Regions from separate parts of the Homo sapiens genome. Here regions 1, 3, 4, 5, 6 and 7 are each linked to region 2. Evidence: promoter capture Hi-C in human tissues and cell types (Jung and others, 2019). All regions are on one chromosome and are shown on one strand. Each heading gives the region's core, a stretch centred on a gene start or on the middle of the fragment in contact. The rest is flanking DNA. Distances are from core to core; before and after follow the strand shown.

The links. The method cuts DNA at HindIII sites, captures the fragments that hold promoters and counts their contacts. A contact is called where the count stands out against the background at its distance.
Region 1: a fragment that was not itself captured here is called in contact with the fragment with the promoter of LDB1 in region 2 in 2 of the 25 tissues and cell types used here (IMR-90 fibroblasts and lymphoblastoid cells).
Region 3: a fragment that was not itself captured here is called in contact with the fragment with the promoter of LDB1 in region 2 in 1 of the 25 tissues and cell types used here (IMR-90 fibroblasts).
Region 4: a fragment that was not itself captured here is called in contact with the fragment with the promoter of LDB1 in region 2 in 1 of the 25 tissues and cell types used here (IMR-90 fibroblasts).
Region 5: a contact is called between a fragment that was not itself captured here and the fragment with the promoter of LDB1 in region 2, in 2 of the 25 tissues and cell types used here (hippocampus and mesendoderm cells).
Region 6: a contact is called between a fragment that was not itself captured here and the fragment with the promoter of LDB1 in region 2, in 3 of the 25 tissues and cell types used here (mesenchymal stem cells, neural progenitor cells and thymus).
Region 7: a fragment that was not itself captured here is called in contact with the fragment with the promoter of LDB1 in region 2 in 2 of the 25 tissues and cell types used here (hippocampus and mesendoderm cells).

Annotation. Positions count from the first base shown.
Region 1 is chr10:102,263,901-102,268,210 of GRCh38, reverse strand. The region is part of intron 3 of GBF1 (golgi brefeldin A resistant guanine nucleotide exchange factor 1); the gene reads right to left. Among named protein-coding and RNA genes, the nearest start is that of GBF1, 21 kb to the right of the region's middle. The HindIII fragment of the contact is 6,652 bases long and covers 1-4,310 here.
Region 2 is chr10:102,118,554-102,122,570 of GRCh38, reverse strand. It overlaps LDB1 (LIM domain binding 1), which reads left to right and starts at 2,203. Exons shown (of 11, transcript NM_001113407.3): 1 at 2,203-2,485. The coding sequence starts at 2,461. It also overlaps a transcript of PPRC1 not described here. RefSeq lists enhancers at 64-813, 814-1,565, 1,566-2,317 and silencers at 1,814-1,943, 1,964-2,263, 2,324-2,403, 2,494-2,563. The HindIII fragment of the contact is 10,982 bases long and covers 1-4,017 here.
Region 3 is chr10:101,958,265-101,962,312 of GRCh38, reverse strand. All of the region lies in intron 20 of ARMH3 (armadillo like helical domain containing 3), which reads left to right. Among named protein-coding and RNA genes, the nearest start is that of ARMH3, 96 kb to the left of the region's middle. The HindIII fragment of the contact is 3,481 bases long and covers 618-4,048 here.
Region 4 is chr10:101,979,498-101,983,583 of GRCh38, reverse strand. All of the region lies in intron 19 of ARMH3 (armadillo like helical domain containing 3), which reads left to right. Among named protein-coding and RNA genes, the nearest start is that of ARMH3, 75 kb to the left of the region's middle. The HindIII fragment of the contact is 5,754 bases long and covers 1-4,086 here.
Region 5 is chr10:101,887,699-101,891,657 of GRCh38, reverse strand. It overlaps ARMH3 (armadillo like helical domain containing 3), which reads left to right. Exons shown (of 26, transcript NM_024541.3): 24 at 2,168-2,246. Among named protein-coding and RNA genes, the nearest start is that of KCNIP2, 46 kb to the right of the region's middle. The HindIII fragment of the contact is 5,467 bases long and covers 1-3,959 here.
Region 6 is chr10:101,867,646-101,871,647 of GRCh38, reverse strand. The region is part of intron 24 of ARMH3 (armadillo like helical domain containing 3); the gene reads left to right. The region is part of intron 2 of LOC101927445 (a long non-coding RNA gene); the gene reads right to left. Among named protein-coding and RNA genes, the nearest start is that of KCNIP2, 26 kb to the right of the region's middle. The HindIII fragment of the contact is 4,841 bases long and covers 1-4,002 here.
Region 7 is chr10:102,337,248-102,341,144 of GRCh38, reverse strand. The region is part of intron 3 of GBF1 (golgi brefeldin A resistant guanine nucleotide exchange factor 1); the gene reads right to left. Among named protein-coding and RNA genes, the nearest start is that of NFKB2, 57 kb to the left of the region's middle. The HindIII fragment of the contact is 4,292 bases long and covers 1-3,657 here.

The sequences.
Region 1 (4,310 bases), core at 987-3,486, 150 kb before region 2:
GAGCTGTTTCTTCTCAAGAGTCTTCATTTCCTAACCTTGAGTACAAACAAATGTTTGGAAGAACTTCTTGGTTTAAAAGTGTCAAATGAAGAGCATTCATAAATCATCTGGGGAAGGCCCCAGTAAAAAGAAATGGCAAAATCAAGTCATCAAAATATAGGCCTCTTGGAGCTACCCTTTTAATATGAATAGTCCCTGGGGAAAAAAAGAATCACAGTACCTTTATTCACTCTAACTGTGCTGAAATGTCTACAAGTCTGTGGCCACTCAAGTTACAGAGATTCTAAGGTGCCAAAGTCAGTCTGACTCAAATTCAAGTCACATTCTAATGTATTACTCAACTATAGTTTTATATTATAAACCAAGAAAGTAAAACAGGGCACAGGAAATGGATACTTTTAAGTGTGCCCATTGCCTTTCCTAACACTCAGCCCTTCACAAAATTTGTCTGCCAAATTTTATCACATTTGGTTCTTTTAGTTCCTACTTAGGCCTTGAACAATTCACAAGCTCAATTCCAAGTGGAACAAAAGCTGATGACCCATTCAACCTTCTTCTCATGCTGATTAATAATGATATATTACTTTACTCCCTAAACTATAGACCCCTGTAGGAAAAAATAAAAGTAGGCACTTAATCAATAGGACTCCAGCAAATTTTTTTCATATAACATACTCGCTTTTGTTGTTGTTGTTGTTGTTGTTGTTGAGATGGAGTCTTGATCTGCCACCCAGGCTGGAGTGCAGTGGCACGATCTCAGCTCACTGCAATCTCACCTCCTGGGTTCAAGCAATTCACCTGCTTCAGCCTCCTGAGTAGCTGGGACTACAGGCATGCGCCACCGCACCTGGCTAATTTTTGTATTTTTAGTAGAGACAGGGTTTCACCATGTTGGCCAGGCTGGTCTCGAACTGCTGACCTCAAGTCATCCACCCGCCTTAGCCTCCCAAAGTGCTGGGATTACAGGTGTGAGCCACCATGCCTGGCACATATAATATACTCTTATTCAATCTTTTTCCTGACAATGACTACTAAAATCTCTTTTCTCTACACCTCCCCATTTTCCAAATGAAACAGATTAAACTTGAGGTATCAGGCATTCTCAAACAGTTTCTTTTCTACCTAAGCGGCTACTGCTAAGAGGCCCAGGCCAGACAGGTGTTAAGTCATAGTTCCTCCCAAGTTGGCTTCCAGACTCTGTTTAAATGTTCTCTGCAAACCTCTGGAGGTTAGATGGACTCAAACCTCCTAGCTCAGACTCTGAATTCACAAAGCTTGAGACAGACAGTACCCTACAGGTGTGTTTGTCCAGGATAAACTATACTTAAATAAACTCCTGACACATCCACTTTCTCCTGGCACGTGCTTCTCCCTCTTAAACTCAAGCACGCCATAACCTGCTGTCCCAGTAAGCTCTGTAAAGAAATATCCTATCCCCCAGAATTACGCTATGCAACCCACCAATGTCTTTGGGAATAGCTAAACTCTGGCCATAACAGCTTTACATGTGAAAGCCAAATAAGCAAATATGAGCTATTGTTTTTACTTATTTCTTTGGCTTGTTCCTTAAGGAAAGAGCAGGAATAAGAAAAGCTGGCAGCAGATTGCTCTCACTCATGGTCATCCATTCCATGCCTGATAGGGACCATATAGCATAAAGTAGAGGCTACAAAATGTTAGCTTTGGAATGATCAGCTAGAGTCATTAGTCCTGTCAAACCAGTGGCTATGAGGGCAGGAAGTCTGACTGATTGTTTACCATTACAGACCCACTTCCTAAGTACCTAAGAAAAATGCCTGGCACATACCAGATAGTCAATAAATATCAGTTAGAAGCAACTCAATAAGCTAGGCCCTGAAGGAATCCAAATCTTGGAGAATCCCCAAAAGAAAAGGTCTAAGAAGCTAGAACAATGTTATAGTTAATATGGGTACCTATACTGGGCCTCAAGACCACCTTAGTTTTTTTTTTTGAGACAGAGTATCGCTCTGTCACCCAGGCTGGAGTGCAGTGGCACGATCTCGGCTCACTGCAAGCTGCGCCTCCCAGGTTCAGGCCATTCTCCTGCCTCAGCCTCCCGAGTAGCTGGGACTACAGGCGCCTGCCACCATGCCCGACTAATTTTTTGTATTTTTTTAGTAGAGACGGGGTTTCACCGTGTTCGCCAGGATGGTCTCAATCTCCTGACCTCGTGATCTGCCCGCCTCGGCCTCCCAAAGTGCTGGGATTACAGGCGTGAGCCACCGCACCCGGCCCTCCACCTTAGTCTTACACTGAGAACCCCAGTCCTGATAACCAAAACTGGACATTAGGTCCTCAGAGCTAAAAAGACCTGGGACTAAATCTCCAAAGGCAAACTCCTCACCACCACACCCTCACACGCACATAGACACACGCACACCCTAAGAAGTCTTCCTCAAGCCCTGGCCCTGAAGGCTTTAAAGTAAGTCATTAAAAGATGATCCCATAAGAGAAGATTTTGGTTGTGATACTTTCTTTCATTCATTCATTCATTCATTCATTCATTGAAAGGGTCTCACTCTTGTCACTCAGGCTAGAGTACAGTGGCGCAATCATGGGTCACTGTAACCTCGAACTCCTGGGCTCAAGTGATCCTCTCGCCTCAGCCTAAGTAGCTGGAACTACAGTTGTACGCCACCATACCCAACTAATTTTTTTTATTTTTATTTTTGTAGAGATGGGGGGAATCTTGGTATGTTGCCCATGCTGGTCTCGAACTCCCAGCCTCAAGTAATCCTGCTGTCTTGGCCACCCAAAGTGCTAGATTACAGATGTGGGTCACTGCACCTAGCCTGGTTGTGATACTTTTAGACTGTTCCTCTCCTGTTTTAAACCAAAAATTTTCTGGAAAAGAATCTCTTTGTAATGATCTAAGTTTAAAGACCAAGGACAAAGACAGACTATATCTGGAGGCAAATGACTACAACCAAACACCACAACTCACAACTGACTATAGCCCTTTCCATAAAGCTATACTGGATGAAGGGAACTAAGGCTTGCAAGAATTTATCTAGTCTGGGAACAAAGAGATCAAAGACCACAGACCATATTGGCTAGAAGCATTCCCATAAACTGTCTACTCTTGTCAGATCTAAAACCAAGAGCAATATCAAGTATCCTGATATTTCACTTTCCCTTCCATGCCCCATCCCATGCCACAGATCCTACCACAAGGTCTAGCTGCGAGACTGAAGATAACTCCCATATGCAAGAGCCCCAAAAGATTCTTAGAAGAATAAAAGGAAATGTGTCTTTGGAATCTAAACCCATGGCAGGGCTTGGGCAGATGTAAGAGAGAGGCAGTGGCCCTTCTGCCCCTAAGGCCAGGACACCCCAGCCCTGCAGGCAGCACAGAGTTAACTACCCACCCGCTCTGAGAAGCACAAAGGTACATCACTGCAACATGCCTAACATTTACATTGCCTCTCTCTGCTCATTAAACAGGTTTTGGTTAAATAATGAACAAACTGTATTACAGACTCCAATGAGAATTCCAAAATTATAAATCAACTGGGAAAGCCCAAAGGGGCAGACAGACAGGGAGGGGGGAGAAGGATAATATTGACTAATATAAAGGGCGCAGCTTGACAGTGGATATTCCTGCCACACCTGATCAAACACACTCCGTGGGGGGAGGGGAAAGAGAGCAAGAGAGGGAAGATGGGACAAGACAGCCTGAAATTTGCATCCGGAAAAGATTAAAACGGATTCTTTGGGGATAGAGAAAATACATAATATATATTACTATAAATGCAAAACTGTACTAAAAGCTAACTCAAATGTCAAAGATTACAGTTTGAATAAATTTAAATATAAAAGCCATGTGCTTCCTTGAGTTAATGAGAGAGACATAAAAGGACAAACTGGGCCAGAAGCTGAACAGAGCCTTATGCTGCCTTTGCTGGGTAATGGGTCCAAAGCACAGCAGTGACTACAGAGACTTCCCTCCACAGTTCTGAGACCTGAGAAAAAACTGGCAAATCCATCACTTCTGCAGCCTACATTTGCCTCCTTTATAAACTGAGATATGATTCACATACTATAAAATTATCCTTTTCAAGTATACAATTCAGTGGTTTCTTGTATACTCACAAAGTTGTGCAACCATCGCTACTATCTAATTCTAGAACATTTTCATTACCCCAAAAAGGAACCCTGTAGCCATTAGCAGTCACTCTCCATACCCCCTCCCAGCCCCTGGTAACCACACATCTGTTTTAACTCCTTCAGAATAATCTAAAAGGAGTCCTGAGAGGACTTCAAGACCAAATGAGGGACAGCAGTCAAGT
Region 2 (4,017 bases), core at 954-3,453:
GAGGTCAAGGTAGGTATTCCCCCTCCTCCAAACCATCTCAAATTGTCCTGCCAATCCAGCCCCCTCCTCTCTTGGAATTGGATAATCTTAAAAAAAAAAAAAAAAAAAGGGCAGAAAGAACACGTATTTACAGGACTGCCTGGCTGACACTGGGCTACGTGACTGGGTGTACATTGTCTAGTTTGATACTCACCAAGCCATAGGTTACAGAGGATAAAGCTAGTGTCCCAGGTGGGGTGGTCAGTTGTCTCAAATCACTCAGGTATTGAGGAGCGAATCTTGCGTTCAAACCTAGGTATCCACAATTTCGGGCCAGTGTTCTGTTGCCTTATGTTCTCTCTACTCCCTCTAGTGCTGACCTTTGTCTGGGAGAATGCAGGGAGGGGGTGCACTCAGGCAGGGGATGCTGCCAAGGAAATACTTGTGTGAGTGTGGATGGCTTCAGTCAGGTCCTCTCTGCTCCTGGTGGGGGTGGAGATGGGGAAACCTGGGGGTGGGAGACTCCACAGTGTACAAGCTCCCCTATCCCCCATCCTAAGCACATGGTGGGGAGGGTCTCCATTCCTAGGCAGGCCTTCTTTTCAATCCCTGGACTCTGCACCGTTCCATCATTTCATGCTCCCTCAGCAAAAACCTAAGGTGGAGAGAAGAGGTCTCATAAACACTTTAAGCCTCCGCATTTGTAACCCTCCCCCAGCCAGTCAAGCCAGCTGTGCAGACTCTGAGCCAGAGTGAGGGAACCAAACAGCCTTCTCAACCAACACCCCTCTAAGTAACAAAGAGGAGAACCCCCTACCCAGTCAGGGCCAGACGCCCTAGGGAGGAGACACTAGTCCAAGTCTCCATCGTCTATCCCTGGAGCCCATACTGAAACTTAAGAAAGAAAAGCTAGCAGCTGGGGACCCCAGGAGGGAGGGGGTCAACTCTCTACTCCAGGCGGCTCCCCTCCCTTCCCTCCTCCTGGCTAATAGGTATTTCCTGTTTATGAGGCAGCTAAAGCTGAGCTTTTGGGAAGGGATGGAGATGGAGCCCCTCCCCTCCTAGGGCTGGGTTGGGGAGTCCTTGAAGTGTGACTGAAGGTTGGGAGGCTCCTCCCAGGGGAAGGAGTGTTCCTTACATTGACCATCCACATCATCTCCCATCCAACCCCCCACGGCCCACAGCCTCTGCCTCTCTGGGTTAGGGGGCACTGGAGGGGCCTGTTTCCTGTTCTCATCTCCGAAGCCCTCAAAGGACAGCAGCTTCCAGGCAGGGGGGTCGGAGGCGGTGGGGTTGGGCGGTTGGTACGGAGGTGAAGGCACCAAGGCTGGAGAAAGGGGGGAAGGGAAGAGAGTGTCTTGACTGATGCGTCAGTCTGCAAGAAGGAAGGATGGCCTCCTATCGCCCCTCCGTAATCCAATCTGGTGGTCATTCCGCAGCCCCCTCCCCCCAGCAAAACACAGATCCCAAGCCCTTAGGCGGAGGAGGGCGGGGACCCCACTTAATTAACCCTTTTAGTTCTAGTCCCAACTGGTTTCGCAGGCAAAGGAGGAGTGGTTAATTTAGGGAAGGGGTGAGTTGAGGGGTTGCTACAAGAATTAAGAGAATGCTTCTTTACCCATCCAGCCTAGGGTAGGGACGCGAAACAAGGGGCCTCCAGAAGAAGGCTGGCGTCTCAGCAGGGAGCACGGACAGGGGGTCTGCAGTCCCTTTTCCCTCCCGGAGCGCGGCCCGGGGTGGAGAGAGATACACCACACTGCCCACCCCGGCTCCGCCTCCCCCAGCCGCGGCTCCCGCTCCGGCTCAGCCAGACTCCCCATCCGGCGGCACCCGGAGGACGGACACCGAGCGCGCGGCTGCGCCTCCAAGCCCTCCCCTTCGCCCTCCCTCTCTGGGGTCTCTGCCTCCGTCTCCTTTTTTAAAAGCTGCGTCACATGCATGCCGTTCCCCGAGCGCTCCCAGCCCCTCGCCGCCCGCCCGCCGCGCGGCGCACGCACGTCGTCGCTTGCTGCGCGCTCTCCCGGGTCACTTTGACACGGCTCTCCCCTCCCACTAGCAGGACAATTAGCATATTAATAAAGCCCGGCCCTGCCCGGCTTGGGCTGGGGAGCCGGCGCCGGCGCGAGGGAGCGCGAGCGCGAGGGCGGAGAGGGGGGCGCTCGGCGACGGCGGCGGGAGCGCACAGACACGCACACGCACACGCGCACACACGCACACACGGACACACACTCCGCGGACTCACACCCGCGCGCACACACGCAGAGGCCGCTCGCCTTCCTGCCTGGCTTCCTTCCTGTCTGCTCCGCGCCTGACAGGCCCCTCGCCGCAGCCAGGGGCCGCCCGCACCGGGCCGAGGCCGGGCCGGGCCGGCGGCGAGCGCAGCGGGGGCCGCGGGCGGCGGCGGCGGCTCATGCCCGGCCTGTCCCCGCGAGGGGCGGGCACCGTGACTCGGCTGGGCCCCCAGAGGCGGGCGATGTGAAGATGTCAGTGGGCTGTGCCTGTCCTGGTGAGTGGGGCGTGCGGCCACTCGGCCCCTTCCTGCCCAGCCGTCCCTGCGGACCCCTCACCCCGTGTTTGGCGAGAACTTGTGTGGGGGGCGTCGATGGCATGGGGGAAGCCGGGGGCTGGAAGGGCTACGCGGGGCCTCAGGCTGGCGGGTAGCGTTTTCCCCAACTGTGTAAATGCGCAGCAGCCCAGAAACACGGGGAGGAGACGCTGGGGGTGGCTTATGTGTATGTTTTTTTGGGGGTAGGCTAATTGGGGAGAGGTTTGGGGGGGGCTGAAATTCTCAGAATTCCAGGTTGTTAGCCAATCAGAAGTGACTCTGGACTTTTGACCCCCCCCCTCAGGTCACCATAGAGTTGTGATTGGCTGGTTTGGGCTGCCCCCCCTTCCCTGCTGCCCATTGCCTCTTACCTATCCTGTGACATCCCCCCCATGCTGTTTCTGAGGACCCTGTTTGCAGGGAGGTATTGATTGCGGCCCATCTTGCCCCCCACCTTCAACTTTTCCTGCCTGTTGCCAGGGAAGGTTGGCCCTCCTGAGGCACCGGAGGTACTCCTAAGAGGTGCCAGATAATTGGACCCTTGGGTCTGGCATCTCCGCCCTAGTGGGAGGGCAGGCTAGGAAATAGAGTGATTTGTGGAGAGGTAAGCTGGGGGAGCAATACTTGACCCAAAACTGAGAACTTGAGAGAGGACCCAGGCTCAGATCCCTGCCTCCCCAAAACATATCAGCTCTTGCCAGGGATAGCCTAGGTCTGAGTTTTTTTCCTGGGGGGCAGGTGGGGGGGGCGGAGGGCGTCTACCTCACTGCCAGGAGGAAAGAGAGAAGCCATGCGACTGGAGAGGTAGTCTACAGAGGGCCTCACGGCACACTGTCTGTCTCCATCCCCGGGACTCTGGGTCCTGGAATTGGCCCTCCTGCCCCAGACTGGAGTCAGCTTTCTCCTGGAAGTCAGTGTCCCTGAATGTAGCCCGCTTTGGCTACATACTTCACAGCTGGACACCCACCACTCCCCCACAAATCCCCAAGGGAAGCTGCCAGTGCGGAAGCTTCCTTGAAAATCATGTGACCCAGGCCAAGCTGGGCTGGGCACACACTTCAGGTGCCTGCTGAGGCTGATGTCTAAGGGGCATGGGTCCCAGAAGGAGGAATAAGAGAACCTAACAATCCTAGAATATCCGAGTATGGGAACCACTGGCTCCTGCTGCAGAGGGTTGGGGAGAGGAGAGGGAAGAGCTTGCCAAGCTGGAATCCTGTCTGGCCCCGTCGTCCCTCTTTCTACCAGCTTGGTGTACATGTTTATGTTGTGGATTTTCTCCTTTATAATTGACCCATGCTGGGTACCCCTTTCAGATCCATCATGTTCTTAGCCCACCCCAGGGCCCTGACCCTCCATCAACACACATGAGCAGAGCAGTTAAACTAAGGATCTGAACAAGCTAGAGGGATGAGTCTTAAATTGTGATTCTTAGTTCCTACAAATAGTGGGTAAGCGGGTATGTATGTATGGAGGGGTTGTCAGGCTGGAGGTGG
Region 3 (4,048 bases), core at 1,109-3,608, 160 kb after region 2:
GTGATGTGTCTCTTCACGTTGGTATTTTGGGACAGCGCATTCCCAGGGATGTGGAGTATGGGCCCATGGGCATTATCTCTTCAGGTTTGGAAAGTCTCAACTACCAAGCTTGCCCTTACCCAAAAGGATATTCTCTGCGACAAGCTATGCCATTCTCTTTTGAGGGAGTGAGCAGCCATTGCTCACCTAATGGGCAAAGCTGTTTACACAGTGTTAAGTTTCTATACCATAAGGTCATGCTTCGTTGGAAATCTCTCAGACCAGGAGTCAGGCCTTTGGTGAAGAATCCTGTATTAGCCCTTTTGCCCCACTTCATTTTAGAAACTATTATTTAACAATGAGAAACATGATAAGGCAAAGGATTAAATTAAATGGTACATCCTGTCCCTCATATCTTCATGACTGCAACATTTACTGTACTTGATTGCAAAGTCTTACAGATGTATGACTGATTAACCGTACTATGTTTATGCAATCATCCCCTTATTTTTTAGTTATCTTAATTCTTCCCTGTATGTACTGCTACTTCTGTGAGTGTCCTTGGAACAATTTGGCTGGTCATGTGCCCAGATGACATCAAGTGGACAAGTGGATCAAGGGCAGTTTTCTAAAAATGTGTGTGTATGTAGAGGGGGTGAGTCAGGAGCCTGTTAGCATGAGCTCTGTGTTGGCACTGAGATCCTGAGTGCCAGTTCTCTGCTGTCCTTGAAACTGCTCCTGACACAGGGCATTTTCTTCTTTGGCCTAAACCTGTCTTTTTTGGCATAAACCCTGTGCAAAGCTCGGTCCATAATAGTTTATAAATAAACCTGGTTATTAATTGTTTATACCCATATTTTTTTGTTTTGGTTCTGATTTTTTCTAAAGAAAGGGGATCTTGGCTCCCTTTAATGTCCATATCCAATCATCTTCCATTGGCAGTACCTAATTTTGAAGAAGGCAACACTGACTGAGGGAATTAGGAACAGTTTTAGTTGATAGTTATGTGCTTAAAAAAAAAAAGAGAGAGCAAGCAGCCACAAGGGATAGAGAGGTGGAGGTGAGAGCTGAGATGTAGATAAGACAGCAGAGAGCAGGCCAAGGAGCTGGCAGAGAGGCCTGCTGAGGTGGCTCGTGCTGAGCAAAGCTTCTGGGAGTCTTTTTGTGTTGCCAGTGAGTGACAGGAAGGCGATAATGAGGTATTAAATACTTGTACTTTAACAGGTAGCTGAGGACCAAGGGAAAATGGGGACCAAATACATGAAAATGACGTAGAGCAGCCAACAGGTGGAGAAAGTTATAAACCAGAGTCTAGAGAAGTGCTGATAACAGTATAGTCAGCAGATCTAAGCACACCATTTATAGTAAGCTGTAACCCCACTTTCACGTTCAGCTTGATCTCGCACCTTTATTTGTTTAATCTTCTTTTTTTTTTTTTTTTTTTGAGACGGAGTTTTGCTCTGTCGCCCAGGCTAGAGTGCTGTGGTGCAATCTCGGCTCACTGCAAACTCCGCCTTCCAGGTTCAAGCGATTCTCCTGCCTCAGCCTCACGAGTAGCTGGGATTACAGGTGCCCGCCACCGTGCCTGGCTAATTTTTGTATTTTTTAGTAGAGACGGGGTTTCACCATCTTGGCCGGGCTGGTCTCGAACTCCTGACCTCATGATCAGCCTGCCTCAGCCTCCCAAAGTGCTGGGATTACAGGCATGAGCCACTGTACCTGGCTTATCTTCTTAATGGCATGGTAGAAAGAACACTAAACAGGTGACAAGGTCCTAGTCCCAGCTTAGTCACCAGCTAGTTTGGGGTGAGGGTGGAATGGGGCATGGAGTTTTCTTATCCAAAAATGAGGAAATCGGATTAAATGACCTAAGGCATTTTCTAGCTCTAAAAATCTATAATCAGCTATGTCAAAGCCTCACAGACTTAAAACTCCCATCATATCAGGTCAGAGGCTAGAATCTGTGTGTAGTGGTGTATAGGACACTGAACAGTTGATATAGTGAGTGCAAAGTCAAGGAGATTATGATGGAGAAAAGCACTATTTCATGGGATATTTGGGACATTCTCTCTTGAAGAAGAATTACCATCTGTGATGTCAGAGGCTTCATTTTAGTTGCCTATTAAATTCCCTGTAGATAGTTCTTTTTTTTTTTGGAGAAGGAGTCTTGCTCTGTCGCCCAAGGTGGAGTGCAGTGGTGCGATCTCGGCTCACTGCAGCCTCCGCCTCCCGGGTTTAAGCAATTCTTCTGCCTCAGCCTCTCGAGTAGCTGGGCCTACAGGCGCACACCGCCACGCCCAGCTAATTTTTTGTATTTTAGTAGAGACAGGGTTTCACCGTGTTGCCCAGGCTGTTCTCGAACTCCTGAACTCAGGCAATCTGCCTGCCTTAGCCTCCCAAAGTGCTAGGATTACAGGCGTGAGCCACTGCGCCCAGCCCCTGTAGAGAATTCTTACTTCCAAGTGAGAAGACCTTGGTTCTTGGGGGAGCAGAATATCTGACCTGCATTTTCAGGGGCAGAATGCAAGCCACTCTGGCACTGACTCTCAGAGTATTGTGGTACTGGACTCTCCCTTTCAATACTCTGGCTCCGCTAATGCCTGTGGCAGTTGGGACACAGGTTGCCCGTGCCAGAGTTGCTCTCTTCCTCCTCTAATATTTCTCACTTTGTCATCCTGGATTCTGAATCCCAGAGATCAAGACTAGCTGTAGTCCAGCAGAGGAGCAATAAATCATTGCTCCCACATCCTTTCCTCCAGGTTTCCTGCCCTTTAATTACCACATAGCCACTGCTGAGGCTGCATCTCTGTGCTGTGTGTCCTGGGGACAAAAGCCCTTGTTGATGGGATGTGTGCAAAAGCTGCTTTGTCTCTAGCCATTACGTTTTGCAGAGTGCCAAGCGTGCTGCCCATCCCTTTCTCTCGCCTCTATGATTTTATAGAGTCCGATTGTCAGGTAGTATATCATTAACAGGGCTTGTCTAAACTCTGGGGATTAGGTGGTGGGGTGGGCAGCCCCCACGTAGCTCACTCAGCAAGGTGATCTTCTTTAAGGAGGGAAGTTTGGGTTAGTCATTTTTATGTGAATTTTAGCTAGCCCCATTATTCCTGTGCTCCTGGTAGGAGCTAAGCAGGTTGTGTGATCCTGAATGGGCTCCCTTGGAGCCTTTTTGTCCCCCCAGTCCAACAGATACTTGATCACTTAACAGACACCATTAAAAGGGCCAGCTGCCTATCATTTGCCTTTTCATTATGAAACCCCAGAGAACTCAAGTTGGGGCCGGGGTAAAGAGTTTATAAATGAAGATGCCTATCTCCTTCATGCCTGGCAAGGCTTTTTTTTACTATTTGAGGGGAAGATTCAGGCTTTAGAAACAGAATGTGGGTGAAGCCAGCCTCTTGTACTTTCCTTGCCTGCTGTTTCTTTACTGTACCTGTGCTTTTAAAGGATTGAGAGTGAGGGGTGTTGTGTGGTAGGCAGCAAGAGTCTGGAGAGTCTCACTCCTACTCATCATTCCCTGCTGTTCCAAATCAAAGCTCACATCTCTACTTTAAGAGTAGTAAACTTCACACAAAACTCTGACAGCATGGGAGAATGAACTTCTTTGCTGGCAAAGAAGCAGATATGGTCCTAGAAAAAGAGAGGTCAAGCCTTTTCTTGGGTCTGTGGAAGGTGGGGGTTTGTGGGGGAGAAGACAGAAGGACCACAGATTGCCTGCAGCTGCTGAACCCCTTTATAGTATCCCATCAAGTAGGGGAGGTAGGTACAGGGGCATTATCTGAGATGGGCAGAGAAGCAGGACTCATTTCATGGACAAAATGTGCTAGGTGAATGAGTATAAGGTAACTGATAACTTCTTTTATGCTTAATATTTATTTGCAAAAATGTCTGAAGCTGCACTGCTAAACTAGGGACTTGGCAGTCAGTCTCTTTATTGAGGTTGCTTGGGTTTTAGGAATCTCTCCCCTCGCTAAGAATTGCCAGGCAGAAAGAGATTTCAATAAATGTTGTCACTGTAACGAGAGGTCAGCGCAAGCTTCACTTTGTTTGAATAGTTAGAGCAGTTAAG
Region 4 (4,086 bases), core at 211-2,710, 140 kb after region 2:
TTATGTAGGCATGTTTGATTAAACCATTGGCTGGCCATGGTTCATGCCTGTAATCCTAGCACTTTGGGAGGCTGAGGTAGATGGATCACTTGAGCCCAGCCTGAGCAACTTGGTGACACCTTGTCTCTACAAAAATTAGTTAGGTGTGGTAGTGTGTGCTTGTAGTCCCAGCTACTTGGGAGGCTGAGGAGGGAGGATGGTTTGAGCCGTGGAGGTCAAGGCTGCGGTGAGCCGTGATTGCACCACTGCATTCCAGCCTAGGTGACAGAGTGAGACCTTGTCTCAAAAAATAAATAAAATAAAATAAAAACCACTGGCCATTGGTAATCAACTTAACCTTCAGCCCCTCTTCTCTCCCTGGAAGTCAGGGCTAGGGCTGAAAGCCCAGCTCGCTAATCATGCCTTGGTCTCCCTGGTGACCAACCCTCATTCTGAAGCTACCTAGGGGAGGCCAGCCGTCAGTCACCTCAACATACAAACAGACATCACTTTGGAGATTCTAAGGATTTTAGGAGTTGTATGTCAGGAAACAGGGTTGAAGACCAAATATATATTTTAGAACAGTGGTCCCCAACCTTTTTGGCACCAGGAACCAGTTTCATGGAAGACAATTTTTTCACAGATCTGGGGGCAGTGATGGTTTCGAGATGATCCAAGTGCATAACATTTATTGTGTATTTTATTTGTTATTATTACATCGTAATATATAATGAAATAATTCTGTAACTCACCATAATGTAGAATCAGTGGGAGCCTTAAGCTTGTTTTCCTGCAACTAGATGGTCCTGTCTGGGAGTGATGGGAGACAGTGACAGATCATGAGGCATTAGATTATCATAAGGAGCCACAACCTAGATCCCTTGCATGCGCAGTTCACAATAGGGTTTGTGCTCCTATGAGAATCTAATGCTGCCACTGATCTGACAGGAGGCAGAGTTCAGGTGGTAATGCAGACCATGGGCAGCAGCTGTAAATACAGTTGAAGTTTCCCTTGCTCACCTGCCACTCACCTCCTGCTGTGCAGCCTGGTTTCTAACCAGTACTCGTCCATGGCCTGGGTGTTGGGGACCCTTTTTACAATATCACAAGGTTAGTTTATTAGAGAATAAAAGGGAATGACTTAAAATTTTTCCATGTATGTATTGATTTATAGATTATTTTTCTGTACGGTTTGTAAAATACATGTTTTTTTCTTTTTTTGAGACAGTCTTACTCTGGCATCTAGGCTGGAGTGCAATGGCGCAATCTCAGCTCACTGTAACCTCCGCCTCCCGGGTTCAAGCAATTCTTGTGCCTCAGCCTCCCAAGTAGTTGGGATTACAGGCCTGCACTACCACTCCTGGCCAATTTTTGTGTTTTTTTTTTGGTAGAGATGGCATTTCACCATGTTGACTAGGTTGGTGTCAAACTCCTGACCTCAGGTGATCCACCCACCTTGGCTTCCCAAAGTGCTGGGATTACAGGTGTGAGCCACTATACCCGCTATACCCGGCCTGTAAAATATTTTTAATATCACTGCTGAAGGTACCCCAGTCTTTGTTTTTTTTTTTTTTTTTTTTTTTGAGATAGAGTCTCGCTCTGTCGCCCAGGCTGGAGTGCAGTGGTGCGATCTTGGCTCACTGCAAGCTCCACCTCACTGCAAGTTCACGCCATTCTCCTGCCTCAGCCTCCCGAGTACCTGGGACTACAGGCACCCACCACCGCGCCCAGCTAATTTTTTGTATTTTTAGATAGAGACGGGGTTTCACCGTGCTAGCCAAGATGGTCTCAATCTCCTGACCTCGTGATCCACCCGCCTCTACCTCCCAAAGTGCTGGGATTACAGGCGTGAGCCACCATGCCCGGCCTGTACCCAAGTCTTTTAAGAGAGTACTGTTTAAATAGTTTTTACTAAATTCTGTCTGAGAGGCTCCTGCAAGACCACTTAGGGAGTGAGAAGAACAGAGAGAGATGTGAATAATGGAGCAAGTAGAATAAGCTAATAAGGTAGCAATGGAGGCTTATTATTCGGAGTGCTATGAAAATATCTGGAGAAGAGTAATTTTAGGACTTTAGCTTATAAATTTAGTTCAATTCACTTGTATCCTTGGTACGTTGTTAGGCATTTTGTTTATTTATTTATTTTTAAGACGGGCTATCACTATGTTGGCCAGGTTGGTCTTGAACTCTTGGCCTCAAGCAGTCCTACTGCCTCAGCCTCCCAAAGTGCTAGGATTACAGGCGTGAGCCACCAAGCCTGGTCAGTTGTTAGGCATTTTAATTCCTCTACCTGGTGTCTCTGGCTCTCATTCTGCAGAGAGAGGTTAGTAGTGTTTTCTCTGCTTTCTTCTTTTCTCCTCTGGTAAGAAGCCCAAGAAATTAGCTACCCCTGTTTTTTTTCTTTTTCTTTTTTTTTCATTATTTCTTCTTAAAAAAACAAAAAAACGATTACATGTGCAGAATGTGCAGGTTTGTTACATAGGTATATGCGTGCCATGGCCTATTGACCCATCCTCCGAGTTCCCTCCCCTCACCCCCCAACCCCCCAACAGGCCCTAGTGTGTGTTGTTCCCCTCTCTGTGTGCATGTGTTCTCAATGTTCAGCTCCCACTTATGAGTGAGAGCATGCAGTGTTTGGTTGTCTGTTCTTGTGTTAGTTTGCTGAGGATGATGGCTTCCAGCTTCATCCATGTCGCTGCAAAGGACATGATCTCATTCCTTTTTCTGGCTGCATAGTATTTCATGGTGTATATGTACCACATTTTCTTGATCCAGTCTATCATTGATGGGCATTTGGGTTGGTTCCATGTCTTAGCTATTGTGAATAGTGCTGCAGTGAACATACATGTGCATGTGTCTTTATAGTAGTAGCTACCCCTATTTTAGCTTGATTCCGTCAGCTGTCAGATTGATACCCCACAGATTAATGTGGTGTCTGCTAAAGTCAGTAGGGTCTTGGGATATTCTTTGTCTCGGGTTATAGCCATAGAACTTGAAAGAGTCTCAGGCTGGGCACGGTGGCTCCCGCCTGTAATCCTAGCACTTTGGGAGGCTGAGGTGGGCGGACCGCCTGACGTTGGGAGTTTGAGACCAGCCTGGCCAACATGGTAAAACCCCATCTCTACTAAAAATATAAAAATCAGCCAGGCATGGTGGCAGGCATCTGTAATCCGAGCTACTTAGGAGGCTGAGGCATGAGAATCACTTGAACCCAGGAGGCAGAGGTTGCAGTGAGCCGAGATCATGCCACTGCACTCCAGCCACTGTGACAGAGTGAGACTCTATCTCAAAAACAAAAACAAAACAAAACCCCCGAAAGACAAAAGGAGGAGCCGGTTTCATTTACCTGAAACTAGCAGTTTACCTAGGTTCAGTTTTCTAGGAACTTTATAGCTTAGTATAATAAGACTTAAGCAATAGCATTCAGTTGGTATACAGTCAAGATTTGTTGAATGAATGAATGAAAAGGGTAGGTCTGACAGTTTCTTCTAAACCTTTTGGTTTGTGTGATGAGCCTGGAGTTCCAGAGGGGTACAGTCCAAGCCTTGGGCCTGTGGTTGACCAAACCCTCCCTTAACTAAAAAAGTCCTAATTTAAGTACTTTTAAGGCAGCGAGGATATGACAAAGTGAGACTTAGAATCTGGATTTAGTTAAGACATTGCATTTTAGGCCATTTAGAAACCTCTATACACTAGGGATTCTAAGGGCTGAGATCATAGTTAATTGAATGTTGAATTTGTGAATTTAAATTGAAAATAGGAAATATAAAAGCTAATCCTCTCAAATGAAGAGTATCAATTTATCCACCTAACATAGGCTATTAAAGTGGACATTTAATGGCTTAATCAAGAATCCAAGCATACCTAGTTATAGAATATATGAAATGAACATTGCCGTGAAAGCTGTAAATTGCATATCTTGACAAATATTTGGAAAACGTAGGCCACAGAGTTTTTTTTAAGCAGCTTTAAATTATACAATTTAGTGTTTTTAAAATATATTCACAGAGTTGTGCAACTATTACCACAAACTAATTTTAGACCATTTTCAATCGACCCTTGCATAAAGAAATCCTGTACCCAGTAGTAGTTACTCTTCTGTATTTC
Region 5 (3,959 bases), core at 560-3,059, 230 kb after region 2:
TTCCGTATTTTAATTAGATTTTACCAGTTTTTCCATTAATGTCCTCTTGCTGTGCCAGGGTCCATTCCAGGATATGCATTTAATTGTCATATCTCCCCAGTGATTTGTGACAATTTCTCAACTCTTGTTTTTCATGACTTTTAGAGTCTTAAGAAAGTACTGGCTGGGCACGGTGGCTCACACCTGTAATCCCAATACTTTGGGAGACCAAGGTGAGTGGATCACCTGAAAGGTCAGGAGTTTGAGAACAGCTTGGCCAATGTGGTGAAACCCCATCTCTATTAAAAATACAAAATTAGCTGGTCATGGTGGCGGGGGCCTGTAATCCCAGCTTCTTGGGAAGCTGAGGCAGAAGAATTGCTTAAACCCGGAAGGTGGAGGTTGCAGGGAGCTGAGATCGCACCATTGCACTCCAGCCTGGGCAACAAGAGCAAAACTCCGTCTCAAAAAAAAAAAAGGAAGAAAGAAAGAAACTACCAGTCAGCGTCAGGAGCAATGGCTCATGCCTGTAATCCCAGCATTTTAGGAGGTGAGGAGGGAGGACTGCCTGAGCTCAGGAGTTTGAGACCAGCCTGGGCAATCTGGCAAAACCCCATCTCTACAAAAAATACAAAAATTAGCCAGACATGGTGGCACATGCCTGTAGTCCCAGCTACTTGGGAGGCTGAAGTGGGAGGATTGCTTGAGCCAAGGAGATGGAGGCTGTAGTGAGCCATGTTTGTGCCACTGCACTCCAGCCTGGATGACAAAGTGAGACCCTGTCTCAAAAAAAAAAAAAAAAAAAATACCAGTCAGGTATCCTGTAGAATGTCCCCTGTCTGATATTTTTCTTGTGATTAGATTGAGATATTAAGTGCCCTTCTCATCAGATCATACCAAGGGTTACATGGTATCTACATGATATCACTGGCAATCTACAGCTTCATCATTTGGTTAAGGTAGTGTTTACCAGGCTTCTTTGCTATAAAGTTACTGTGTTTCCCATTTGCTACTCTAGTCTTTGGCAATAAATCACTAAATCTAGCCCACCCTCAGGAATGAGAAATAAACTTCATTTCCTATAGGGAGAAGTATCTACATATATTATTTGAAATTGTTCTATGAGAAAGATTTGTTGGCCAGCCGCTGTGGCTCATGTCTATAATCCCAGCACTTTGGGAGGTGGAGACCTGTGGATTGCTTGAGCCCAGGCTTGAGCCTGGGCGACATGGCAAAACCGTGTTTCTACCAACAAAATACAAAAATAATTAGCCGGGCATGCTGGCACATGCCTGTAGTCCCAGCTGCTAGGGAGGCTTAGGTGGGAGGATCGCTTGAGCCTGGGAGGTTAAGGATGCAGTGAGCCATGATTGTGCCACTGCATTCCAGACTTGGTAACAGAGTGACACCCTGTCTAAAATATAAATATAAATAAATATATATATATATATGAAAAAAAGAGATTTGTCTCTCTCTATGAATCATTTATATTCATATGGACTCATGTAAAACCCTGATCTAAAACCTGTGTTCTTTTTGCTACACCAGGCAAGAAATGACAAAGACCTATACCAAGGCACTGGTTTCAGGGAAATTTATTTCAGATTTCAGAGATTTTTAAGAGGTAGATTTGATAAGACTAGGTAATTTTGGATGTGACTAAGTGATGGAGAAGGGAGTGTTTTAAAATGACACTCAGCTTTTGGGTTGAATGGCCGGATATAAAATTTTGGTTTGAAACTATTTACTAACAAGTATGAAGATTGCTTCTATTTAGCCTATATGTTGTTGGCCCAGCTTTACTGAGTGCCCTGTTCTCCCAAGTCAGACAAGACAGCTTTTCTTTCTGATTGAAGCACCAGGGCCCCCTAGTGGACAGCCCTCTGGGTTCCCTTTCTCATCTGAAGGACTCAATATTTTTGTTTGGCTTTGGGTTTTTTCCGTTAGTTCATTTGCAGAGCAGAGATGCTTGATTCTATTTTCTGTCTAATAGTAAATCCTTCCCACTTCAGAGTTATCAATTCACCCCCATTTGTGACTACCTCATGTTCAATAAGAGGAAGTTACCCAGTCACAATCGGTCCCATGCTCTAGTACTCTAAACCAGAGGGTACTTGATCCTTATTTTTTAACAGATGTATCCACCTCTTCTATCTGGCACCATATTAATACGAATTCTTTGTTTCAGAGCCATCATCAACCACTTTAACCCCAAAATTGAGTCCTACGCTGCTGTGAATCACATATCCCAACTGTCAGAGGAGCAGGTAAGCCACTACTTTCCCCAGATGACCTAGTTGGTGGCTAGGATCAAGCAGTTGCCTTCTCTCTGATGGCAGGGGGATTCTGTGACTGAGCTTTTGTGGTAGTGACCAGGGCCAGGCTGCTGAGAGGAATTAGTGTGGGGTTGGTTGATAGTACTTTTAATACAGAGTGATGCTGTCTGCGTTTGTGCCATCTGAAGGGTTTGTTAATTATATAGAAGATATGTAGGTGAAAATCTGGTGAATTATTTGTTTTAGAGTGTGATAAGGCATTTCTTTTTTTAAAATTTTAGGCAGAGAGTCATTTTGATTTTTGAAAATAAGAAATGAGAACTTAGAAATGGATGAAACTGCCAATTAGAAAAACCCTGAGTTCAGCTTAATTTGAAGCTATTTGGCTCGTTAAAACATGAGCCCTCATTGGGACAGATTTTCCTTAGTAATTGAGTTCTCTTTGCCTTGAGCAATTATTTTTGAGGAGGTTTTTCTGTGGTATGGACTGAGTTAGAGATGCAGATAGCCTTGTGTCTTTGTTTTCTTTAAATCTGGCCTGATTTCCCCTTCTCCCAGAGTGCCTGCACTCAGCTCTGCATTATATAAAAGTACAGATGAGGCGTTAGCGTGGCATGGGATTGAACTTGATGTGTCAAAATGAAACTCTTGAGTCCTTTTTTAAAAAGCACTAAATAAGACATCCTATTCACATGGTTCCCTTTCCTTTTCATCCTACTCCCAAATTGGAGGGGCCAGGGTATAGACCCCAAGCCAGTAGGAAGACCATATGTGCCCTGTTCTTCCTTTTTTGCCAGTGCATCTTTGTAACCCTTGTTTGAGCTTCTTGCTGGCAGAGCCAGCCAGCCAGCTATGATTTGACCATGTGTTTCAGTGTTCCTCAAAGCTATTCAGTTCTCCCAGTGAAGCACCAAGCAAGCCTTTTTCCTAATAGACAAGCTTCTCAGTATTCCCACCAGTGGCTCTTTTCTCAGCCAGATGGATAGGACTCTATTAGTCTGTCAGTTGTTCCCTTTGACATATTTGTTCTCTTTTGTGAGCCCAGCTGTGAGAATCCATCCTCACATTTAAAACTGCTTTTATAAATGGCCTTCATTTCCTTTTTTCCTCTCTGCCTGTGGAGCTATCCTGAATCCTGTTCTTTGATGCTGTGCTGTCTGTGAGGTGCTTTGTGATGCTACCATTTTCTTGTTGGACTAGTTCACATTAATTTTACTATATCATTTTTATGCAAAATAATTCAACATCTTGAGTTTTATGCAGTAAGAGAAGGGGTGACTTTCCTACCACAGTGAGCTCTGGTTAGTCTAAAAGCTTTTTTTTTTTTTTAAAAAAAAAAAAAAGGAGACATTTACTCTGTCAGCCACGTGCAGTATTCATCCCCCAGCAGCTTGGGAAGGTCAAGCTGAAATCTTTCTCCAGCAGTAGCTGCCACAGACCAATAATAAAAATCCTTTCTGGCACACAAGGCAATCTGTGAAAGGATGATTAGCAAGCACGTGTCCTCAGCCTCCTCCAACTTCTTTCAAAGTTAAATGAAATGATGAAAGTGCCTCTCAAAAAGAGTGCGCAGGCCAGAGACGAAGCGATTTCAATGGAGAGGGATTTCATAGGAGAATGGGGAAAGGATAGCAAGATTGATTTACTTGGTCAATATGTAATTGTATACCTGCTGGGTGCGGTGGCTCACACTTGTAATCCCAG
Region 6 (4,002 bases), core at 1,102-3,601, 250 kb after region 2:
ACCTTTTTTATGGTGTGTGGTAAATGTTCTTTCCCCCCCGCCAAATATTCAGTTATGTTGCCATTTGTTGAAAAGACTACTCTTTCTCCATTGAGGTACTTAGGCGCATTGTAAAAAAAAATCAATTGAACATGTATGTGCAGTTTATTTCTGGACCGTCAGTTCTGTTCCATTGGTCTATACGTCTAAATTTATGGTCTACCATGTCTTGATTATTGTATGTCTATAATAAATCTTGAAATCAGCTAACCCTCTAATTTTGTTTTTTTTAAATGTTTTTGAATATTCTAGGTCCTTTCCATTTCTGTATAAAATTAGCTTGTTTCTGCAAAAAGACTGGTGAGATTTTGATTAGAATTGCATTAACTCTATAGATGACTTGGAAGAGAATTGATACTTTTAATAATACTGTTTTCATATCCATAATGGAGTAAACATAATATACCTCTCCATTTATTTAGGTCTGTTAAAATTTTTGTCAGTGTTTCGTAGTGTACTTGTTTTATGCCTATTTTGCTCAATTTATCCCTAAATATTTCATTTTTATGTCATGTAAATGGTATTTTAAATTTCAATTTCCAGTCGTTTGTTGCTAGTTTATGGAAATATACTTGTTTTTTAATTGACTTTTTTTTCCTGCATCCTTGATAAACTTATTTATTAGATTTTTGGGTTTTTTGGTTGTTTGTTTGTTGTTTGGGTTTTTTTGAGACAGGGTCTTACTCTGTCATCCAGGCTAGAGTACAGTAGCATGATCACAGCTCACTGCAGCGTCAACCTCGTCGGGCTCAGGTGATCCTCCCACTTCAGCCTCCTGAGTAGCTGGGACTACAGGCTACCAGGCCTCCCAAAGTTCATTGTTTTCTTGTGATGTCTTTGTTTGGTTTGGGTATTAGAGTAATATTGCTCTTAAAAAATGAGTTGGGGAAGTATTCCTTCCTCCCCTGTTTTTAAAAAGAGTTTGTATAGGATTGGTTTTATTTCTTGCTTAATGTTTAGTAGCATAATCAGTGAAGTCATCTGGACCTATAGTTTTCTTTGTGGGAAGAATTTATACCCAATATTTTATTAGGGAAAATTTCAAACATATAGTAAAGTTGGAAAAAATTATATGGTGAATAGCCACATAACCCTCACCTAAATTCTGTTATTTACATTTCACTCTACTTGCTTTATCACATGTATAACCCATAGGATAGATCTCCATCCATCAATCCATCTTTTTTTAATGTGTTTCAAAGTAAAATGCATATATCAGTATACTTCTGTGGAAAACATTTTAATTGTTAGTTGAATTTCTTTAATAGATTTAGGAATAGTCAGTTTACTACTTGTTCTTGAACCAGTTTTAATCATTTGTGTCTTCAAGGAAGTTATTCATTTATGTAGGTTGTTGAATTTATTGGCATAATTCGTTCATAAAATTCTCCCTGTTCCTTGAAATCCCTGTAGGATTTATAGTGATGCCCTCTCAAATTCATGATATGAGTAATGTGTGTCTTTTCTCTTCTGTTGCTTATCAGCCTGGTTAGAGGTTTGTCAATTTTATTAATCTTTCAAAGAATTAGCTTTTAGTTTCATTGGTTTTCTGTTATTTTTCTTTTGTTTTCTTTTTAAGACAGGATCTCACTTCGTCACCCAGGCTGGAGTGCAGTGGCGCAATCTCTGCTCACTGCAGCCTCCACTTCCCAGGATCAAGTGATCCTCTGGCTTCAACCTCCTGAGTATCTGGGACTACAGGCTTCCGCCACCACACCTAGCTAATTCTTGTATTTTTTGTAGAGATGGAGTTTTGCCATGTTGCTCAGGCTGGTCTCAAACTCTTGAGCTCAAGTGATCCACCCCCCTCAGCCTCTCAAGGTGCTGGGATTACAGGTGTTACCACTATGCCCAGCCTGTTATTTTTCCTTTTCATTGATTTATATGGTTATCTGTATTATTTCCTTCTGTTTGCTTTGATTTAATTTGCTCTCTTTCTAATTTCATAAGGTAGAAATTTAGGTCATTGATTTTAGATCTTATTTTCTAATATGAAAAGTTAGAGCTGTAAATTTTTCCTGTGCTAACAACATCTCACAAATTTTGGTAGGTTGTGTTTTCATTTTCATTCAGTTTAAAATATTTTCTCATTTCTCTGGTGATATATAGTAATGTGTTTCATTTCCATTATTTGGGGATTTTCAAGATATATTTTTGTTACTAATTGCATATTTAATTCCCTGATGGTCAGAAAATATACTCAGTGTGATTACAATCCTTTTAAATTTATTGAGAGTTGCTTTATGGTCCATTGTACAGTCCATCTTGTTGAATGTTCTGTGTGCATTTGAAAAGAATGTGTTCCCTTGTTGTTGAGTTGTTTTCTATAAATCGCTTTTAGAAGTTAAGTATGTTGGTAGCTTTTAAATATTCTCTCTTTACTTATTTTCTGTCTGCTGGTGACCCTTAAACAACACCCAAGTTAGAGGCACTGGCCCCCTGTGCAGTTGAAAATTTGCATATTTTGACTCTTCAAAAACTTAACTGCTAATAGCCTACTATTGACCAGAAGCTTAACCTCTTTTTTTTTTTTTTTTGAGACAGAGTCTCACTCTGTCTCCCAAGCTGGAGTGCAGTGGCACAATTTTGGCTCACTGCAACCTCTGCCTCCCGGGTTCAAACGATTCTTGTGCCTCAGCCTCCCAAGCAGCTGGGATTACAGGCGCCTGCCACCACACCCGGCTAATTTTTGTATTTTTAATAGAAATGGGGTTTCATTATATTGGCCAAGCTAGTCTTGAACTCCTGACTTCAGGTGATCCACCTGCCTTGGCCTCCCAAAGTGCTGGGATTATAGGCGTGAGCCACCGTGCCTGGCCCAGAAGCTTTGCTGATAACATAAACAGTTGATTAACCCATATTTTATATATGTATTATATACTGTACTCTTACAATAAAGTTAGAGGAAAGAAAATGTTATTAAGAGAATCATAAGGAAGAGAAAATGTATTTACTATTCATTAAGTGGAAGTGGGTCATAAAGATCTTCCTCATCATCTTCATGTTGAGTAGGCTGAGGAGGAGGAAGGAGGACAGGGAGGGAGGGGTTGGTCTTGCTGTCTAAGGATGGCAGAGGCAGAAGAGGTGGAGGAGGTGGAAAGGGGAGGCAGGAGAAGTAGGCACACTTGGTATAACTAACTTTGTGGAAATCCATCATAATTTCTGTCTAACATTTTTACTTTTTTATTTCTCTGAAAAATGTTGCTATATGGTACCAGTCTTTTTCCACGATTTGCTTTAGTTCTATTGCCTGTATCATAGAATGGTTCATGTTGTAAAAGAAGTCAAAAGCAGTCTTGAATAATTGGAAACCTTCATCCAGATTGTCTAATGTCAATTTGTTTCTTGGCTCTGCTTCTTCTATGTCTTCTTCCTATTGTCTGGCACTGGTTGGGGAAGAACGCATCTCCCTCATGTCTTCTTCTGTTTATTCCTCTGATGTTGTGTCTGTTAGCTCTGGAATTTCTCCAAGATCCATATCTGCAACCTCTTTTGTAATTTCCTTGATTTGACTCTGTAGTAAATCCTGTGAAGTCATGCACAACATCTGGACACAGTTTTCTCCTGCAGAAATTTGTTGTTTTGGACTTGATGACTTTCATGGCTTTTTCCAATTCTTTTTTTTTTTTTTTAATAGAAACAGGGTCTCACTATGTTGCCCAGCCTGATCTCAAACTCCTGACCTCAAGCCATTCTCCTGCCTCAGCGTCCCAAAGTGCTGAGATTATAGCCATTAGACACCACCCCCAGCCTTTCATGGCTTTTTCTTTTTTTTTTGGGATGGGGTCTCACTCTGTCATACAAGCTGGGGCGCATTCACGTGATCACTGCTCACTGTAGCCTTGGCCTCCTGGGCTCAAGTGATCCTCCCACCTCAGCCTCCCGAGTAGCTGGGACCACAGGCATGCACCATCACACCCAGCTAATTTTTTATTTTTTGTAGAGGTGGGGTCTCACTATGTT
Region 7 (3,897 bases), core at 262-2,761, 220 kb before region 2:
CTTTTATCCATTATTAAACTAAATTGTTTTCTTACTATTGAGTTTGGAGACTTCTTTATTCTGAATTCAAGTCCTTCAGTAGTGATACAGTTATTTCTAAGTATTTTCTCCCAGTCTTAAGCTTATTTTTTCATTCCCTTAACATCTTTCATAGAACAGACACTTTTACTCTTGATGAAGTCCAACTTATTAATATTTTATGGATTGTGTTTTGGTTTAATGTCTAAATTGACTCTGCCTAATTCCAAGTCACAAAGATTTCCACCCTCCCATTTTCTCCTAAAATGTTTACAGATTTATGTTTTTCACCTATGATCTATTTTCAGTTAATTTTTGCATAAGGTGTGAGGTTTAGATTGAGGCTCATTTTTCCTTTGCCTAAGAATTTCCTACTGTTTCCAACATATCTCATTAAGTTGTCTTTGCACCTTTGTCAAAAATAAATTGACCAGGTTGGGCACTGGTCCCAGCACTTTGGAAGACTGAGGTGGGTGGATCCCTTGAGTCTAGGAGTTCGAGACCAGCCTGGGCAACATAGTGAGATCATCTCTACAGAAAATAATTAAAAAAACGGCCAGGCGTGGTGGCTCACGCCTGTAATCCCAGCACTTTGGGAGGCCGAGGCAGGCGGATCACAAGGTCAGGAGATCGAGACCATCCTGGCTAACACGGTGAAACCCCGTCTCTACTAAAAATACAAAAAATTAGCCAGGCGTGGTGGCGGGAGCCTGTAGTCCCAGCTACTCAGGAAGGCTGAGGCAGGAGAATGGCGTGAACCTGGGAGGCAGAGCTTGCAGTGAGCGGAGATCGTGCCACTGCACTCCAGCCTGGGCAACACAGCGAGACTCTGTCTCAAAAAAAAAAAAAAAAAAAAAAAGGCATGGACCAGGAGCAGTGGCTCATGCCTCATGCCTATAATCCCAGCACTTTGGGAGGCTGAGGTGGGTGGATCACCTGAGGTCAGGAGTTCAAGACCAGCCTGGCAAACATGGTGAAACCCCATCTCTACCAAAAAATACAAAAATTAGTGGGGCATGGTGGCGCGCACCTGTAGTCCCAGCTACTGGGGAGGCTGAGGTGAAAGAATATCTTGAACCCAGGAGGTAGAGGCTGCAGTGAGCTGAGATCGTGCCACTGCACTCCAGCCTGGGTGACAAAGTGAGATCCTGTCTCAAAAAAAAAAAAAAAAAATTAACCAGGTATGATGGCATGTGCCTGTAGTCCCAGCGACTCAGGAGGCTGAGGTGAGAGGATTGCTTGAGCCTGGGAGGCTGAGGCTGCAGTGAACTGTGATCATACCACTGCACTCCAGCCTGGGGTGACAGAGTAAGACCCTGTTCCAAAAAATAAAAATTAAATTGGCCATATTTTTGTGAGTCTCTTCTGGGTTCTGTTCTGTTTCATTGATCTATGTGTCTAAGTCTGACAACACGACACTGTGTTAATTATTATAAATATATACTAAGTCTTTTTTTTTTTGAGACGGAGTCTTGCTCTGTTACCCAGGCTAGAGTGCAGTGGCTCGATCTTGGCTCACTGCAACCTTGCCTCCTGGGTTCAAGCGATTCTCCTGCCTCAGCCTCCTGAGTAGCTGGGACTACAGGAACGTGCCACCACGCCCAGTTAATTTTTTTGTACTTTTAGTAGAGACGGGGTTTCACCATGTTGGCCAGGATGGTCTCGATCTCTTGACCCTGTGATCTGTCCGCCTCAGCCTCCCAAAGTGCTGGCATTACAGGCATAAGCCACTGTGCCCTGCCGATATATACTAAGTCTTTTTTTGAGACAGAGTCTCGCTCTGTCACCCAGGCTGGAGTGCAGTGGCATGATCTCGGCTCACTGCAACCTCTACCTCCCGGGTTCAAGTGATTCTCATGCCTCAGCCTCCTGAGTAGTTGGGATTACAGGCACACACCACCTCGTCTGGCTAATTTTTGTATTTTTAGTATAGACGAGATTTTGCCATGTTGGCCAGGCTGGTCTTGAACTCCTGACCTCAGGTGATCCACCCGTCTCGGCCTTCCAAAGTGCTGGGATTATAGGCGTGAGCCACCATGCCCGGCTTATACTAAGTCTTAATAACAGTGGTGTGATTCCTCCAACTTCATTTTTTTTTCCAATATCATTCAGTGTTCCAATTCCTTTGCCTTTCCATTTCAATTTAAGACAAACTTGCCTTGTTGGAAGTTTGAAAGGAATTGCATTGAGTCTATAGATCAATTTGGGGAGACATGATATCTTTGCTATGTTGTGCCTACCAATTCATGAACTTGGTATGTCTCTCCATTATTCAGATCTTCTTGGTTTCTCTCATCACTGTACTGATGAGCGCCACCACGCCCAGCTAATTTTGTATTTTTAGTAGAGACGGGGTATCTCCATGTTTGTCAGGCTGGTCTCAAACTCCCAACCTCAGGTAATCCGCCTGCCTTGGCCTACCAAAGTGCTGGGATTACAGGTGTAAGCCACCGCACCCAGCCGAGGCTCTGTGTGTAACCCTCACACAGCATACAATTCAGTCAATGGACTAGTCTCACTCCTATCAATAGCCAGATATATGATACCCAAGACCTTCATCTGTCAAATTAGATAGTTGAAATCGGCTGGGCGCAGTGGCTCACACCTCTAATCCCAGCACTTTGGGAGGCCGAGGTGAGTGGATCACTTGAGGTCACGAGTTTCAGATCAGCCTGGCCAACATAGTGAAACCATGTCTCTAATAAAAATACAAAAAAAATTAGCCTGGTGTGGTGGCACGTGCCTGTAATCTCAGCTACTTTGGAGGCTGAGGCATGAGAATTGCTTCAACCTGGGAGGCAGAGGCTACAGTGAGCCGAGACTGCACCACTGCACTCCAGCCTGGGTGACAGAAGGAGACTCTGTCTCAAAAAAAAAAAAAAAAAAAAAGAAGAAGGTTGTTGGAATCTATGACTGCTAAGATATGTTCATTCCAGTACTTTCATTTGGTAAGTCAGTGCTTTATAGAAACCTACTGATGAAAAACTAGAAGGGTTAAACTTTTTAATGAGCCCACCAGGAACCTTCATTATCATGTCACTTCCCTACCTCTTCCAAAAAAGAGAATCATGATATATAAAGTTAACTTTCCTTAAAGAGTTTTGTCTAGGGAGAACAAGAGTTTTGCTCTCTAGGTTCAACTGTTGATTGCCAGGAGCATAAGAGAAGCTCTAACAGGAGCAACTCTGCAACAAGTGGGGTTGGGGGCAAGTTGAACTCCTAGTGGGGCATCACTAGTAAGGATATTTCTTTCTTTCTTTCTTTCTTTTTGAGACAGAGTCTTGCTCTGTCACCCAGGCTGGAGTGCAGTGGTGTGATCTCGGTTCACTGCAACCTCTGCCTCCTGGGTTCAAGCGATTCTCCTGCCTCAGCCTCCCAGGTAGCTGGGATTACAGGCATGTACCACCAGGCCCAGCTAATTTTTATATTTTTAGTAGAGATGGGGTTTCTTCATGTTGGCCAGGCTGGTCTCAAACTGCACTCCTGACCTCAGGTGGTCCACCTGTCTCAGCCTCCCAAAGTGCTGTGATTACAGGCGTGAGTCTCCACGTCCAGCCTTTAGTAAGGATATTTCTAATTTAAGGGGTAACTTTTTGTAAACATGTAATTTAAAAACAAACAAATTTGAATTTATAATCCTGGTGAGATGTTCAGATGGTTATCTAGAATAGTGCTTGTCAAATTATCTGTGATGAAGAGCAGTTTTTTCTTCTTTATGTCAATCCACTGCAGACCCATAGTTTTTTTTTTTTTTTTTGAGGCGGAGTCTCGCTCTGTCGCCCAGGCTGGAGTGCAGTGGCGAGATCTTGGCTCACTGCAAGCTCCCCCACGCACCATTCTTCCACCTCAGCCCCCCGAGTACCTGGGACTACAGGCGCC